Linked DNA regions of Homo sapiens: regions 2, 3, 4 and 5 are each linked to region 1. The links are contacts of gene promoters, found by promoter capture Hi-C in blood cells and fetal thymus (Javierre and others, 2016). All regions are on one chromosome and are shown on one strand. Each heading gives the region's core, a stretch centred on a gene start or on the middle of the fragment in contact. The rest is flanking DNA. Distances are from core to core; before and after follow the strand shown.

Evidence for each region. The method cuts DNA at HindIII sites, captures the fragments that hold promoters and counts their contacts. A CHiCAGO score of 5 or more calls a contact.
Region 2: a fragment that was not itself captured here is called in contact with the fragment with the promoter of TCERG1 in region 1 in 2 of 17 cell types (total B cells and naive B cells); the score reaches 8.8 in total B cells.
Region 3: a contact is called between the fragment with the promoter of TCOF1 here and the fragment with the promoter of TCERG1 in region 1, in 1 of 17 cell types (neutrophils). The highest score is 5.1, in neutrophils.
Region 4: a contact is called between a fragment that was not itself captured here and the fragment with the promoter of TCERG1 in region 1, in 1 of 17 cell types (naive CD8 T cells). The highest score is 5.4, in naive CD8 T cells.
Region 5: a contact is called between a fragment that was not itself captured here and the fragment with the promoter of TCERG1 in region 1, in 1 of 17 cell types (non-activated CD4 T cells). The highest score is 7.7, in non-activated CD4 T cells.

The regions. Positions count from the first base shown.
Region 1 is chr5:146,445,875-146,448,766 of GRCh38, reverse strand. It overlaps TCERG1 (transcription elongation regulator 1), which reads right to left and starts at 1,434. Exons shown (of 23, transcript NM_001382548.1): 1 at 1,359-1,434. The coding sequence starts at 1,417. RefSeq lists a silencer at 1,066-1,145 and an enhancer at 1,064-1,771. The HindIII fragment of the contact is 4,342 bases long and covers 1-2,892 here.
Region 2 is chr5:141,970,025-141,972,916 of GRCh38, reverse strand. It overlaps RNF14 (ring finger protein 14), which reads right to left. Exons shown (of 9, transcript NM_004290.5): 2 at 2,040-2,213. Among named protein-coding and RNA genes, the nearest start is that of RNF14, 2.4 kb to the right of the region's middle. The HindIII fragment of the contact is 3,286 bases long and covers 1-2,892 here.
Region 3 is chr5:150,356,294-150,359,185 of GRCh38, reverse strand. TCOF1 (treacle ribosome biogenesis factor 1) reads right to left here and starts at 1,489. Exons shown (of 27, transcript NM_001371623.1): 1 at 1,332-1,489. The coding sequence starts at 1,439. It overlaps LOC105378226 (a long non-coding RNA gene), which reads left to right and starts at 1,766. Exons shown (of 4, transcript XR_944407.3): 1 at 1,766-2,680. RefSeq lists silencers at 1,062-1,281, 1,362-1,701 and an enhancer at 2,302-2,471. The HindIII fragment of the contact is 5,465 bases long and covers 1-2,892 here.
Region 4 is chr5:143,002,775-143,005,666 of GRCh38, reverse strand. All of the region lies in intron 11 of ARHGAP26 (Rho GTPase activating protein 26), which reads right to left. Among named protein-coding and RNA genes, the nearest start is that of ARHGAP26-AS1, 140 kb to the right of the region's middle. The HindIII fragment of the contact is 2,293 bases long and covers 345-2,637 here.
Region 5 is chr5:143,403,359-143,406,250 of GRCh38, reverse strand. NR3C1 (nuclear receptor subfamily 3 group C member 1) reads left to right here and starts at 2,565. Exons shown (of 9, transcript NM_000176.3): 1 at 2,565-2,892. It overlaps LOC128966704, which reads left to right. Exons shown (of 2, transcript XM_054328421.1): 1 at 1-917; 2 at 1,335-1,585. The coding sequence starts at 610. The coding sequence ends at 1,365. RefSeq lists enhancers at 360-409, 130-896, 730-969, 1,370-1,509, 1,550-1,619 and 1 more and a silencer at 1,670-2,892. The HindIII fragment of the contact is 7,002 bases long and covers 1-2,892 here.

The DNA.
Region 1 (2,892 bases), core at 185-2,684:
TACTGTATACATATGGAGTTTAAAGGATTTCAGATTCATCTCTGAAATAAAACAAAATTTCATTTCTGCCAAAGTGGAGATTTGTGTGTGCGACCATACAGAATCTGAAAGGCATTTTCCTCTTCTAAAACCTTGAATAACAATACCCATTTCCTTACACAATTTCATCTTAAGTTCAAGACAGTATCAACAGAGTCTTCATAATCTACCCTGCTCTTTTTCATTTTCAAACGTTGACAACAGCACAATTCAGAATGGGAGCTGAACATCTGAAATGCCATTTCTCCCATACAGAAAAAAACCAAAGTACCAAATACACATAAAGCATAATACCTCTTTTCCTCAAAAACCACTGACCAAAAGATTTCTCCAGGTCACTCTCATTTTACCAAATTTTAATTACAAACTCATAGACACTGAGGTTCCAGGGGAAAAAAAGGTCACTGCACTGTTCAAGGAAATGGCATGAGTAGTAGACGAATAGAACGCCAATTGGGATTGCAGGCTCTGAAACCTGACTGCCTGAGTTCAAGCCACTTCCTGGAGCCACAAATCCGCCTATGCAATCTTATTCTACTGACTCAACCTCCACGAGGCTGTTATCTCACCTGTAAGATGGGCGAGTAACAACTGAAGACCCCTCTGGTCTGTGGCCTGCAAAATGTTAATAGCAACTACTCCAAAGGGTGGTTGTGAGGATTAAATGAGACAAACCTAAGTAAAGGGTTTACTGGCACACGGTAAGTGCCTAATAAGGGGTTGCTACTGTTGTTGTTACTCACAACTACAGGATAATAAGGAATAAAGGGATGAAAAAAGGAAGAAAAGCCACAGAAGTTAAGAAAGGCAAGCAATGAGGGGGATGAAATGAAAGGGCAAACGTGGGGAGCCCAAAGAGCCGCGGAGGGCGTGGAGAAGGCTTAGCCAGAAGTGGCGAGGGGTACAGGGAAAGTAACTGCGGAGTGCAGAGACGTCGATGAGGAAAATCAGGCCCGCAGCGGAGCGCGGCCTGGGGACAGACTCAGGTCGGCCGAGACGGAGGCGACACGCGGCTGAGGCGGGGCCCAAAGGCGGGAGCACCGCGCCCGGCCAGAGGGCTGCAGGCCGCGAGAGGCGGCGAGGCCCCAAGAAAGCACTAGGAAGCAGCCAGGGAACGCGCAGGAGGCCCTGGCCCAGCCCGGGCCCGGCTCTCATTCAAGCCACCTTCCCCTTCCCCCTTCTTAAACCCCATGCGGTCCCGGCCCGGGCCGCCCGGCTCCGCTACCCACCGTCCGCCCCGGATCTCCACATGGCAGGTCTAGCGTCTAGCCTCTGGGGCTCTCGTGAGCAGAGATGTGAAGGAGGGCAGCGTTCCTTACCTGAGCTCCCCCGGGTTGAATCGTTCACTCTCGCCCCCGTCCCCGCCACGCTCCGCCATTACAGAGGGCCGCGTTCATCCACCCGCCGACCCGACGTCTCCTATTGGCTAGAAAAATCGTCAATCCCCAACGAGAGAGGCGGAGACAGCAGAAGTCTGAGATGCGGTTGGTCAAACTTTCCATCAATCTTCGAAATGGGGGCGATATGTTCTTTGCTATTGGGCAAGGCGCCCGCCGACTTTGAAAGCGGTATGAAGACAGCCAGTTGATTGGTGACTCGGGGGCTTTATGGGAAATGAGATTTTAGCAGTGAGGAACCGCCGGCGCCCTCTCGCGGTAAGCAGAACTAAGTCCTCCCAAGTTCGGCTCAGCCTGCGGTAGCCACGTGTCTGTCGGCTTCCAGGAGAGCCAATTGTGGAGCCATATTGGCCAGTAGTAGCTCAGGCGGAGAGCATTTCCACTGGGCAAGCCAATCAAAATCGACCTGGGCCGCGCCTAAACCGATTGCACAGTTGCTGTGGAAAGCCGCTATTTCCTAGCTTTACAGTAGCAGGAGTCTTAAGTCACCACTCAGCTCTATATCCATGTTATTAAATAATATATTATTAATTACAAGAATACCTCCCAAATTATACTAAACCGTTGCAAGCCAATAGGTGTTATAAGTTGCTGCATTAAGAAAGGTAAATTGGCGAAGGCAAGCCTCTTTGCAATTTACAGCTTAACCACGTCTCCCTCGATCTCAAAATGTGCTTGTCTGAAATTAGCACACCCAGAATACCAGACAATTCTGAATATTTATTTAGTTTTTCTAATTAACAAAAAAAAAAGTTTTGGATTTGGGGTTTCAAAGGCACAATGAAGATGAGCCCTTTTATTAAAGTCGTAAAAATATTAAAATAATACTAATAGATAAATTTTACTTGGACCTAACCATGTAGCAAACCCGGATCTAAGTATGTCAGGTACGTTAACTCTTTTAAGATTCAAAAATTGCTAGGAGGTGGGTAACATAGTCACTGTTTGTAGATGAGCTTGAGGCACAGAGAAGTTAAGTAACTTGCCCAAGGTCACACATCTACTAAATAGCAGAGCCTGGTCTTAACCCCAGTCAGCGTAGTAGCAAAGCAGCACTCTTAAATACTGTAAGCCTAAATAATTGGATCCACATAAAAACATGTGCACAAATGTTCACAGCAGCAATATTCATAATAGCCAAAAAGTATTGTAACAACCCAATGACCATCAGCTGATGCATGGTTAAGAAGCATGGTATAGGCCGGGCGCGGTGGCCCAAACCTGTAATCCCAGCACTTTGGGAGGCCTAGACGGGCGGATCACGAGGTCAGGAGATCAAGACCATCCTGGCTCACACGGTGAAACCCTGTCTCTACTAAAAACAAATAGCCCGGCGTGGTGGCGGGCGCCTGTAGTCCCAGCTACTCGGGAGGCTGTGGCAGGAGAATGGCGTGAACCCCGGAGGCAGAGCTTGCAGTGAGCAGAGATCGCGCCACTGCACTCCAGCCTGGGCAAC
Region 2 (2,892 bases), core at 100-2,599, 4.5 Mb after region 1:
TATTACACTCCTTTCTTAAGTTAATTTGCCAGGCGCGGTGGCTCGTGCCTGTAATCCCAACACTTTGGTAGGCCGAGGCGGGCAAATCACCTGCAGTCAGGAGTTCGAGACCAGCCTGGCCAACGTGGTGAAACCCCATCTCTACTAAAAATACAAAAATTAGCTGGGTGTGGTGGCTCACCCCTGTAATCCCAGCTACTCGGGAGGTTGAGGCAGGAGAACTGCTTGAACGTGGGAGGCAGAGGTTGCAGTGAGCTGAGATTGCACCATTGCACTCCAGCCTGGGCGACAGAGTCAGACTCTGTCTCAAAAAAACAAAAAAGTAAATTTTTTAAATCCACAGGAATCTTTAGGGCAAGTTTTCTTAGCTTCAGCTCTATTGACATTTTGAAGTAAATAATTGTTGTTGGAGAGCTGTGTTGTGCATTATAGAATCTTAACAGCATCCCCTGGCTTTTACCCACTAGATACCCAATAGTGGCCCGCTTCCACCCACAAGAGCTGTGACAACTGAAAATATCTAGCCAGGTGTGGTGGTGCTTGCCTGTGGTCCCAGCTACTTGGGGAGCTGACATGGGAGGATCACTTGAGCCTGGGAGGTCGAGGCTGCAGTGAGCCATGATAGCACCACTGCACTCCAGCCTGAGTGACAAAGTGGGACCCTGTCTCAAAAAAAAAAATATCTCCAAATAGCGCCAGGTCCTGGGGCAGGATGGGGGTTGGAGGCAAAATTGCTCCCAGGTGAGAAAACAGTGCTTGAGAATGTTACAGGCATAGATATTATGGAAGAAAATTAGATAACTGAGCAAGCAGCAAAATAATATTAAATTTTTGAAATAATAGATTTTGTCAAATCCAAGCAGTCACCAATTTAAAGATTCACCATTATGACTCAAGAATATTTAAAAGATAATAATTTTAAGAAAGATTTACCATTATTTTAGGTAATACTAAGAATTTAGCTACAAGGCCCAGGCACAGTGGCTCAAGTCTTTAATCCCAGCACTTTGGGAGACCAAGGCAGGCAGATCACTTGAGGCCAAGAGTTCAAGACTAGCCTGGCCAACACAGCAAAACCCCATCTCTACTAAAAATAAAAAAATTAGCCGGGCATTGTGGTACACGCATGTAATCCCAGCTACTCGGTGGCTGAGGCACGAGACTAGAGAATCACTAGAATCCAGGAGGCAGAGGTTGCAGTGAGCTGAGATTGCACCACTGCATTCCAGCCTGGGTGACAGAGACAGACTCTGTCTCCAAAAAAAAAAAAAAAAAAAAAAGGAAAGAAAGAAAGAAGAAAGAAAGGAAAGAAAGAAAGAAAGAAAGAAAGAAAGAAAGAAAGAAAGAAAGAAAAAGAAATTAGCTACAATTAAAGTATGAACTGGCTGGATATGGTGGCTCATGCCCGTAATCCCAGCACTTTGGGAGGCCAAGGCAGGAGGATCACTTGAGGCCAGCAGTTTGAGATCAGCCTTGGCAACATAGCAAGATCCTGTCTCTATAAAAAATTAGCCAGGTGTGGTGGTGTGTGCCTGTAGTCCCAGCTACTCAGGAGACTGTGGCAGGAGGATCGCTTGAGCCTTGGATGCTGAGGCTGCAGTGAGCCGTGTTTGCACCACTGCACTCCAGCCTGGGGGACAGAGCAAGACCTTGTCTCAAAAAATAAAGTATGAATCAATGTTTTTTAAAATAGCATCAACTGAAAGATACAGCAATTTCAGATAATTTAAATGTGAAAAAAATATGCAATGAGAATTTACAAAAATCATTTTAATAAAACAAAACTACCAGTCAATTAAAATATTGAACTACAATTGCATTTGCAAATATCCTCCCTCACAACTAAAATATTTTTAATTAAAATGTACATAAGTAAAAAGTTAGGATTTTTTACATTTTAAAAGGTCATACTATGAAATTAAAAATGATTTCATTTTCAAAAAACACTTTTTTTCTAGGAGATGTTAGTTCATGGCTCTGCTTAAGCTGCATCCCTATCTAAGACACAATTACATGTTCTACTTGAGGTCAGTTAGTACCTGTTAATAACAATCAGAAGAAAAGGATATTAACACCGCAGTCTGTATTTCAGCTCAGAGTGGAGTTCATGCAAATCCCATTTATTCTCTAACTGGTGGAGCTGAGACTGCTGAAGCTGGGTAAGAGGCCAAGATGTGGAACTCATACTACATATATTATGAAAATCCTGCCATCTGCAGAAAAGAAATACAAAAGATGGTGTTAGGACCCTCTCCAAATTAAAATTCTGAATTTCCATGATCACTGCTTAAGTCAAACATATCCTAACATATAGCCAATCCTAATCTACAAGTGCATGTTACTCTCCTAGGGCAGGCTAACTGAGCCATGTGGTTAAAGGAGTATTTGCATGTCCCCAGCAATGACTGAGGACTTTTTATCTGTCTGCCCTCAGCTATGGGAGGAGCTAAGGAGGAACACCAAGGTCATATGAAAGTACAGGACACCATGCCCCATAACAAACAATCTCTTCAGTTTGTTTTTTGTTTTGTTTTTTTCTCCTTTCCTCTTCTGCTTCTTGTATTCCTTCATTTGCCACTCCCCTCCAGTTTTTCCTCTCTTGTTCATGAATTAAGCCTGCCAGTGGCACTCAAGGTTAATTTTGGTAACAGAAAAATACTTAAACAAAACAAGAGTACACAAACACAAACTTTTAAGTTTTATTCTAAATGCTTTAGAGCTAGGCTTCTTCACTGGGGTGAGGGGAAAAGGGAGTGTGGTCTATAGATGGGCTACGGAGAATCCTATCAACACCCTAAAATTATATGCAAAAATACTATATACAAAACCATAATTAAAAACCAGATTCTCGGATGTGTAACTCCCAAATGAGATAAGAATGAGATTCAGAAT
Region 3 (2,892 bases), core at 240-2,739, 3.9 Mb before region 1:
TAGTAGAGACAGGGTTTCACCATGTCGGTCAGGCTGGTTTTGAACTCCTGGCCTCAAGTGATCCGCCTGCCTCGGCCTCCCAAAGTGCTGGGATTACAGGCGTGAGCTACCGTACCTGGCCTGCTATGGACTTAAAAAAAATTTTTTTTTGAGACAGTGTCTTGCTCTGTTGCCCAGGCTGGAGTGCAGTGGCATGATCATGGCTCATACTGTATCCTCAAATTCCTGGGCTCAAGAGAGTGGACTTTCTCCAGGCCAGTGTGTACACAAGTTCCCTCCCACCACAAGGCATTTACACCTCAGCTATTCCTGACCAGGGCAATCTGCCATCCATCTCTCTTTTTTTTTTGAGGCAGAGTCTCGCTTTATCGCCCAGGCTGGAGTGCAGTGGCACGATCTTGACTCATTGCAACCTCTGCCTCCCGGGTTCAAGCAATTCTTGTGCCTCAGCCACATGAGTAGCCAGGATTACAGGCGTGCGCCAACATGCCCAGCTAATTTTTGTATTTTTAGTAGAAACGGTGTTTCACCATGTTGGCCAGGCTGGTCTCGAACTTCTGACCTCAGGTGATCCGCTAGTCTCGGCCTCCCTAAGTGCTGGGATTACAGGCGTGAGCTACCGTGCCCGGCCCATCCCTCTCATTCTTAACACTTATTGCGGTGCTAAGCATATAGTCACTTTTGTGATTCTTTGATTTGTCTACCTTACTAGAGTGTAAGCTCCAGGAGGGCTGAGAGATGGTGCTCACCATTCGAACACCAGGAAGCACCCTGAGTACCGGATTAACAGTTGAATTAATCAAGTAAGAAATGACTGTACCACGAGTTCGAGTACCAAAGCTGACCGTCTCAGTACAGACAATCGCTAAAGGCCTGAGTTCCAGCTCAACTAAGAGGCTGTAGGGTCCCTTTTCCAGGCGCTCCCCCGAGGGGCTGGTCGCAATCCACCCCCGAGACTCGCAGCAACCTCCTTGCCCCAGGGGGGGCCGCGCAGAGCCTAGCCACGTGGCGGGAGACTTAGGAAACTTAAAATACCCGCTACCAGGAAGGGCGTGGAGGTAAGGGAAGCGGGAATTACAAAGTTCGGCCCCTGCGAGCACACTTTCTGGCCCAACCCACTGCCCGGATGAGGAAAGTGAGGCCCAGGGGAACTGAAGTCGCAGTGGGAAGGCAGAGATTGCGGCTCCTCCGGTACCCCTGGCCGCGCCGTCGAGCACTGCGGGACCCGGCTCCGGGCGCCTGCCGGGTCGCCTGGGGACGGGGCGCGGGCCGCGGGCCGCTGATCTCCACATCTTGCACGCGGCCCTCGCACACGGCCCACGAACGCTTACCTGGCCGCTCTGCTCCTTCACTTCCCGCGCCGCACGCACATAGCCAGCCCGCAGCAGATGGTGGTAGATCAGGGGAAGTAGCTCCCGCCGCTTCCTGGCCTCGGCCATACCCGCGACCCCCGGCCGGCCGGCTACCTGCACGCCCCGCCTTAGTCCCCGCCCGCCACTTCCCTCGCGCCCTTAGACCTCGCGCGCCACACTTCCGGCTCCTCTTTCGCTCCGGCCGCGCGGCGCGCCGGGAAACGTAGTCCCCTCTCCGGGAGTGGCCGGCCCCGCCCCTCAAGGCGAAGGGGGCGGAGACTCGTGATCAACAATACCGCCCATTGGCGCGGAGCATGCGGGGCTAGACAGGGACCCGCCCCCGGGGCCGGCCGGGACTTGGACGACTCTCTTTTAATCCTTCCGGCTGGCTTCTTGAAGAGATTTATCTTCCTTGTTAATTCTCTGATGGCTGGGTCTGCGTTTTACTCATCTCTGAACTCCCTAATCTGGATCTTTCTCTAGATCCGAACTTTGTACTGCCATTACCTGCTCATTTATCCATTTCGCACGGTTTTTGGTGCCCATGAACCAGACACGAATTGCCAGTTTATTCATTGATTCATTCGCTAACTGAACAAATCTGTAATAAGCACCTAACTTGGGCTAGCACCCGGCTAGGCTAGGGGGATTCAAAAGATGCATAATACATGGCAGTTGCCCTCAAAGCTCACAGAGACGACTGTCCGTAACCAAGCAACTATAGTTCAATATCTTGTGTGCCTTGTCAGGGACAGATGCAGCCTATGGGCGCCCCAAGGAGGAGCACCGAACCCCAGAGAGATATCTAAGCTGAGGCATAAAGACACCCGAAATTGCTGGGTGCAAAGGAGAGGACTGGCAGAGGGCACTGCATGAGTCTAGGCATGAGAAAACACCCTGCTATTGCCTGGGAACCCTAAACCCAGAACCCCTAGTCTGCGCTGCTGGGCTGTCCAGGTGGGGTGGGGTGAGGTGGGGAAGAGGGAACAAATGAGGGCACATGAGGATGAAGAAGTAGACAAGGCCTACAACTCCCCCACCCCCAACAGAGTTTGGACTTTGCTCTGAGGGCATTAGATAGTCTCTGACTGGCTTTTCCGAGGAGGTTGACCCTGTTTTGTGTTTTTAAAAGATTGCTAAAACCAAAGCACATACCATTAATACTAAATGTGAGGCTGTTGTAGTTGTTGAGGGAAGGATGGCAGGGAAAAGGTGAGGTAGGCTGGAGAATGTTAGAGTGAGCTGTTCTTAACTTCACCGACCCATTGAGAATCTGAGGGCAGCATGTTTCTTACGGGCGCAGGAGTCCCTAACCCTAGGAGGTCCAGGTATGTGGTTATCTTTGTCTTGAACTTGAATGGAAAATGTTATGTGTCTGTACACATTCAACATTTCCCATTTTCTTGAGCAAATATTTATTGAGTACCTACCATTGGGGATGGAATAGTCTCTACTCCTATAGAGCTTACAGTCTAGTGATGGAATTGTCTCTACTCCAATAGAGCTTACAGTCTAACGGAGGAGACACATACTAAACTAA
Region 4 (2,892 bases), core at 242-2,741, 3.4 Mb after region 1:
AGCAACTTATCTCTTAGTATTATTCCTCAGTAACATTGGGGGAAAAAAGTGCTCTGGACACCCGTGAATACTACTGTTCAACATCCATGCACCTCTTTTTCCAGGGATACCACCCTCATTTTCCTTGGGGAGCCACCTCCCTGCCAAGGCAAGTTCATATGGTTTGGGTGGGGCTGATCCCAACTCCATCTTCAGGTTTGTTGCATGTGATCCAGACTATGCATCCTACTGCACATATGATTGGCCCAAGCCAAACTCAGCCGATGACACTCACTCATTTTTTATTACAACTATGGGAAATGAGGCCTTGTGTTGCTAGGAAAACAGGATGCATACCTGAAGCTTTTGAGGCCAACTTCGGCTACCACACAGGCAAAGCCTTGAGCAGAAAAGGTCAAACAAAGAAATGCAGGGCCATGAATGAAGGGACATGGGATTCTGATGGTATCATTTGAGCCCTTTTATCTTAACATATCAGAAGCTCATCCCTGCTCTTTCTATAGTATATCAATAACATACTTTTTATTTTTTAGTTGTGTTTCTGTTGCTCACAGACAAGGGTTGTGGTAATTTTTTTTTTAAGTGCATGACAGAAAAGCCTACTTGTGCTTTATAGGGAACTCTAGAGTGAAGGAGAAAAATGTGCAACAAAGTTGAACGAGAAACTGTGCTGTCATCCTTGAATTTCCCATTCCTTCTACCTCACATATCCAATCAGTTCCTAGTTGTATCACTTCTATTACTTTCATATGTCTTGAACCTATTCCTCATCCCCACTTCTTCTTCTATTGCCCAAGGTCAGATTGTTTTTGCCTTCTCACCTAGACCTTGACATTGGCTATATCCTGGTTCTTGTTGGCTCCACCCTCTGGCTCTGCTCACTTGCTCTGCAAGATGTGTTTCCCTAAACCACAGTGTTGGTTGGAGAAGAGAAGGCTTCAAAACATCACAATACCAGTCTTCAGATTCTCAAAGGGCAGTGATGTGACAAAGGGGAAATCTTATTGTGCTGAACAGAGATGAAGGTCAGGGTGGAGTCCCCAGGAAGGCAGATTTCAGCCGAACATAAATGACTGACAGGAGCTCTTCATGGTCCACTAAAGCAGGAGGCTGACCCAGCATCCTCTTACACACAGACCTAAGCCCCCTTCTGTCTAGAAGGCATCCCGGGCATTCCTGGGCTGATTAATTTCGCTGCATTTGGGGTTTAATCATTGTCAGCCTAACCCTTTCACTGGTATAGGCCCTGGACAGATTCCAAAACAGGGAGAAATGGATTTGGATGAAGTTGAGTCAAGTGGTGGATGGAGCATGCTGTGGCTTTGGAAACTTGGCATTAAGGTCTGTGTTAAAGCAAACTAAATATGGCCTGAGAAGGACTCCATGCTCCTATATCTGAGTCCTTGTGGACTAACTGTAACCTAACTTAATAGGTAGACAAGGTTGAAAACCTAACTTAGGAAAATTTACCTATAACAACAGCTGAGTCTTGGCCAATCCCAGCAGCCATACCTCAACCACTTATACACTGATGAGTGTTCAAACTATGTTCAAATAAGGCAAACACCAAGCTGTAACCAATCCAGTTGTTTTTGTACCTTACTTCTGATTTCCGTACGTCACTTTCCTTTTTTTTTTTTTTTTTTTTTGTCTATAAATTTGTTCTGACCACGAGGCATCCCTGGAGTCTCTCTGAATGTGTGGTGATTCTGGGGGCTGCCCAATTCGCAAATTGTTCATAGCTCAATTAAACTCCTTTAAATTTAATCTGGATGAAGTTTTTATTTTGTCACCTGGTTCTACCACTTTTGAACTATGCGCCCTTAGATAATCATTCAACATTTCCGAGTCTGCTTTCTCATTGCAAAGTAGAGCTAAGTAATAATACTTATGAGAGTATTAACAGAATTTAAAATAGTTATCACAGGGACTGGAGGTGCTCAAAAACGTTATTTCCCTTTTCCTTACTCCACAAATATTTCCTAACTTACTTGATGGCTGCAGACAACCTTAATCTCTCGTTTCTTTGATCTCTTACTGCTCCTACAGTCTATATTCTACAGAATTTAATACTTCCAAATAAAATTTTTCATTCTTATCATTTCCAATCTCCAATCAAGGTTAATTTTACATTTCTATGGGGCAGGGTTTAGGGGAAGTGATCTATGCGGCATCTAAATGTTTGCATATATTCAGTGTCCAAGAAATTATTCCTCATTAAAGGACAAGGGGCTTAAGGATGCGCATTCCTTCGTCTGGGTCTTTCTCTGCAGGTCAGAGGCAGGTCATGATGACCTTGATGAGCAAATTATCCTTATGGCAATGCTTTCACATTTTGAGTGTCACTGGCACTTACCGCAGTTCTCTGTGAGAAATTTCAAATTAAGCTGATATAGTTTCAAGAGAAAAGGTGAAACAGCTCCTCCTGGAGCATGTAGGTGGTAGGTCACACCCCAATAACCAGTGAAGGAGTAGGCCATTTATTTTAACTTGTTTTTGGTTCTGGTGAATTAGGCACAGGCTAACTGTTCTGGGATTATTAACACTGATTGTTGTGGGTGCTTCTCCTCCGCTACCCCGTGACTTTGATTTGTGTGTTACATAAACACTGTTGCCATAGTTATAATTCAGGAAGCTTTGTTGTTTGACCTTAAGAAAAATTCAACCTCAAATCAGGATAACACTGACTCTCTAGACCACAATAGACCATCAGAGGGTAGGATCTGCCAAATTTCTTCAAGCTTCTAGAAGGAACTACTGTATTTTGGGTAACAAGCAAGCAACAAGAGGAGGAAATGCTGCAATGTTATGCAATTTCCTTGCATTTCATATTCAGCAATCCTGAAAACCTTTATAAGCAACTTCCCTAGCTTTCAACCGAAGATTGGAGTC
Region 5 (2,892 bases), core at 393-2,892, 3.0 Mb after region 1:
TGAGCGATGAGGTGGATTCTTAGAGCAGAGATTCAGCAGTGAGACAGGCTAATGGCATGGGGAGATGTGTTCTATTAGACAACTGTATTGTCCCCTTAATTATATACATATATATGTATATAATATATATGTGTATACATATGTATACATACATGTATATATAAATAGAATTCTTAATCATTTTAAGCAGTGTACAAGGATAATTATTAGCATGGGCTATTTAACTCACTTTTAAAACGTGTAAAACATTATTGTAGGGTTGGGTCTTGATTTGTTTCCCATGAAACTGTTGGTAGTTTAGGGGCCAAATTAACGAAAGACATCTCATTCTAGTGCTTGAGGCTCAGAAATTGGAAAAACGGGCAACTAGGTCAAGCAGTGTTCTCATAGCCTCACAGATGAGCATCCAAAGCAAGGGCCTCCTTCTAGTTGACTTGTGCCAAGGGACAGGAGAAGCGGAGTCTGCCTTCTGGGTCCAGAAGGGGGTTTTGTTAACATGGAGTTGCTCAGCGCCCTTCATAAAAATTCTTCTGGCTGAGGGTTCTACGTTGGCATACGGTTGGTTCCCTCTTCTTTTCCGAGGTGGCGAGTATCTCTTCCTTTGCCAAGATGGCGGCTCCAGAATCCTCTGGAGGCGGCCCCCGTAGATCGTCTCCGGACAAGAGGCTTGCTGAAAGCCTACTTCTTTCCTTTCACATCAGACAATGCACAGGGAACCGTTTACCCTTGAGAACCAAGGAAGGACGGCTTAGGCTACCCGCGATCGCGAACCTTTGCCAAGATGGTGGCCGCGGGGACGGGCTGGCGACACTGTACCCTACCAAGATGGCGGCGGGCGGCTTCCGGGACGCGCTTCCCCAATCGTCTTCAAGATGTCAGAGCAGGGGGAGCCGCCGTCAGTCTGAGCGCGGCGGGAGGTGAGAGAGTGGCTGTGGCCGAGCGCCCGAGCAGGATTAGGTGGAGCTGCGGCAGCCCCCGCCCGTGTCAGGAGCTGGCAAGCGATGTCACCTGTGGGGGCGCAAAAGTTACCTCCCCAAACCCTAAACCCACACAGCACAACCTTTCCCAGAGTCACAAAAATCATAATCTGTGCCGCACAAGGTAGGAGGCTCGGTCCCGGCATCGTCCAAGCCTTCCCGACGCGGCGAGCTGGGGAAGGGAGCTGGGGCGGGGGCTTCCCGCACGGGCACCCCTCGCCCCACGGCCCTCTCCTTTCTCAGGACGGACCACGAGTTCCCTTCCCCTTGGACTGAGGGGGAAGCTCCTAACAGGAACATCTGTAGGGAGTTGAACGCTGGCATTTTAAAGCTGCCTGTATTTTGTTTTATTTGTAGGGGCAGGGGTCCTATGAACGTGATAGGGTGAGCAACGCACAGAGTCGAGGGCAGCAAATGTCAAGATTCGGGGGTGGGGCCTGCACCGGGAACTTGGACGCGGGCCCTGGCCGGGGTGGAAGAAGAGGTCAGGAGTTTCGGAAGGGGGGCTATATTTCGCCAGCAACTTACTATTTCGCCTGCAACTTGCTTTTAAGCCTGCCGCCCCCTGCTTTCCTTAATCATAATAATAAAAAAAAAGTGCAAAGAAATCCAGCTCGCTGGAGGTTTTGCATTTGGCGTGCAACTTCCTTCGAGTGTGAGCACATTGGGCGGGAGGGGTGGGGGTTGAACTTGGCAGGCGGCGCCTCCTTCTGCCGCCGCCGCCGCCTCGCAGACTCGGGGAAGAGGGTGGGGGACGGTCGGGGCGCGGGGGAGGGTGGGTTCTGCTTTGCAACTTCTCTCCCAGTGCGAGAGCGCGGCGGCGGCAGCTGAAGACCCGGCCGCCCAGATGATGCGGTGGTGGGGGACCTGCCGGCACGCGACTCCCCCCGGGCCCAAAGTACGTATGCGCCGACCCCCGCTATCCCGTCCCTTCCCTGAAGCCTCCCCAGAGGGCGTGTCAGGCCGCCCGGCCCCGAGCGCGGCCGAGACGCTGCGGCACCGTTTCCGTGCAACCCCGTAGCCCCTTTCGAAGTGACACACTTCACGCAACTCGGCCCGGCGGCGGCGGCGCGGGCCACTCACGCAGCTCAGCCGCGGGAGGCGCCCCGGCTCTTGTGGCCCGCCCGCTGTCACCCGCAGGGGCACTGGCGGCGCTTGCCGCCAAGGGGCAGAGCGAGCTCCCGAGTGGGTCTGGAGCCGCGGAGCTGGGCGGGGGCGGGAAGGAGGTAGCGAGAAAAGAAACTGGAGAAACTCGGTGGCCCTCTTAACGCCGCCCCAGAGAGACCAGGTCGGCCCCCGCCGCTGCCGCCGCCACCCTTTTTCCTGGGGAGTTGGGGGCGGGGGGCGAAGCGCGGCGCACCGGGCGGGGCGGCCACGCCAGGGGACGCGGGCGTGCAGGCGCCGTCGGGGCCGGGGTGGCGGGGCCCGCGCGGAGGGCGTGGGGGCAGGGACCGCGGGCGCCCCTGCAGTTGCCAAGCGTCACCAACAGGTTGCATCGTTCCCCGCGGCCGCCGCGCGGCCCCTCGGGCGGGGAGCGGCCGGGGGTGGAGTGGGAGCGCGTGTGTGCGAGTGTGTGCGCGCCGTGGCGCCGCCTCCACCCGCTCCCCGCTCGGTCCCGCTCGCTCGCCCAGGCCGGGCTGCCCTTTCGCGTGTCCGCGCTCTCTTCCCTCCGCCGCCGCCTCCTCCATTTTGCGAGCTCGTGTCTGTGACGGGAGCCCGAGTCACCGCCTGCCCGTCGGGGACGGATTCTGTGGGTGGAAGGAGACGCCGCAGCCGGAGCGGCCGAAGCAGCTGGGACCGGGACGGGGCACGCGCGCCCGGAACCTCGACCCGCGGAGCCCGGCGCGGGGCGGAGGGCTGGCTTGTCAGCTGGGCAATGGGAGACTTTCTTAAATAGGGGCTCTCCCCCCACCCA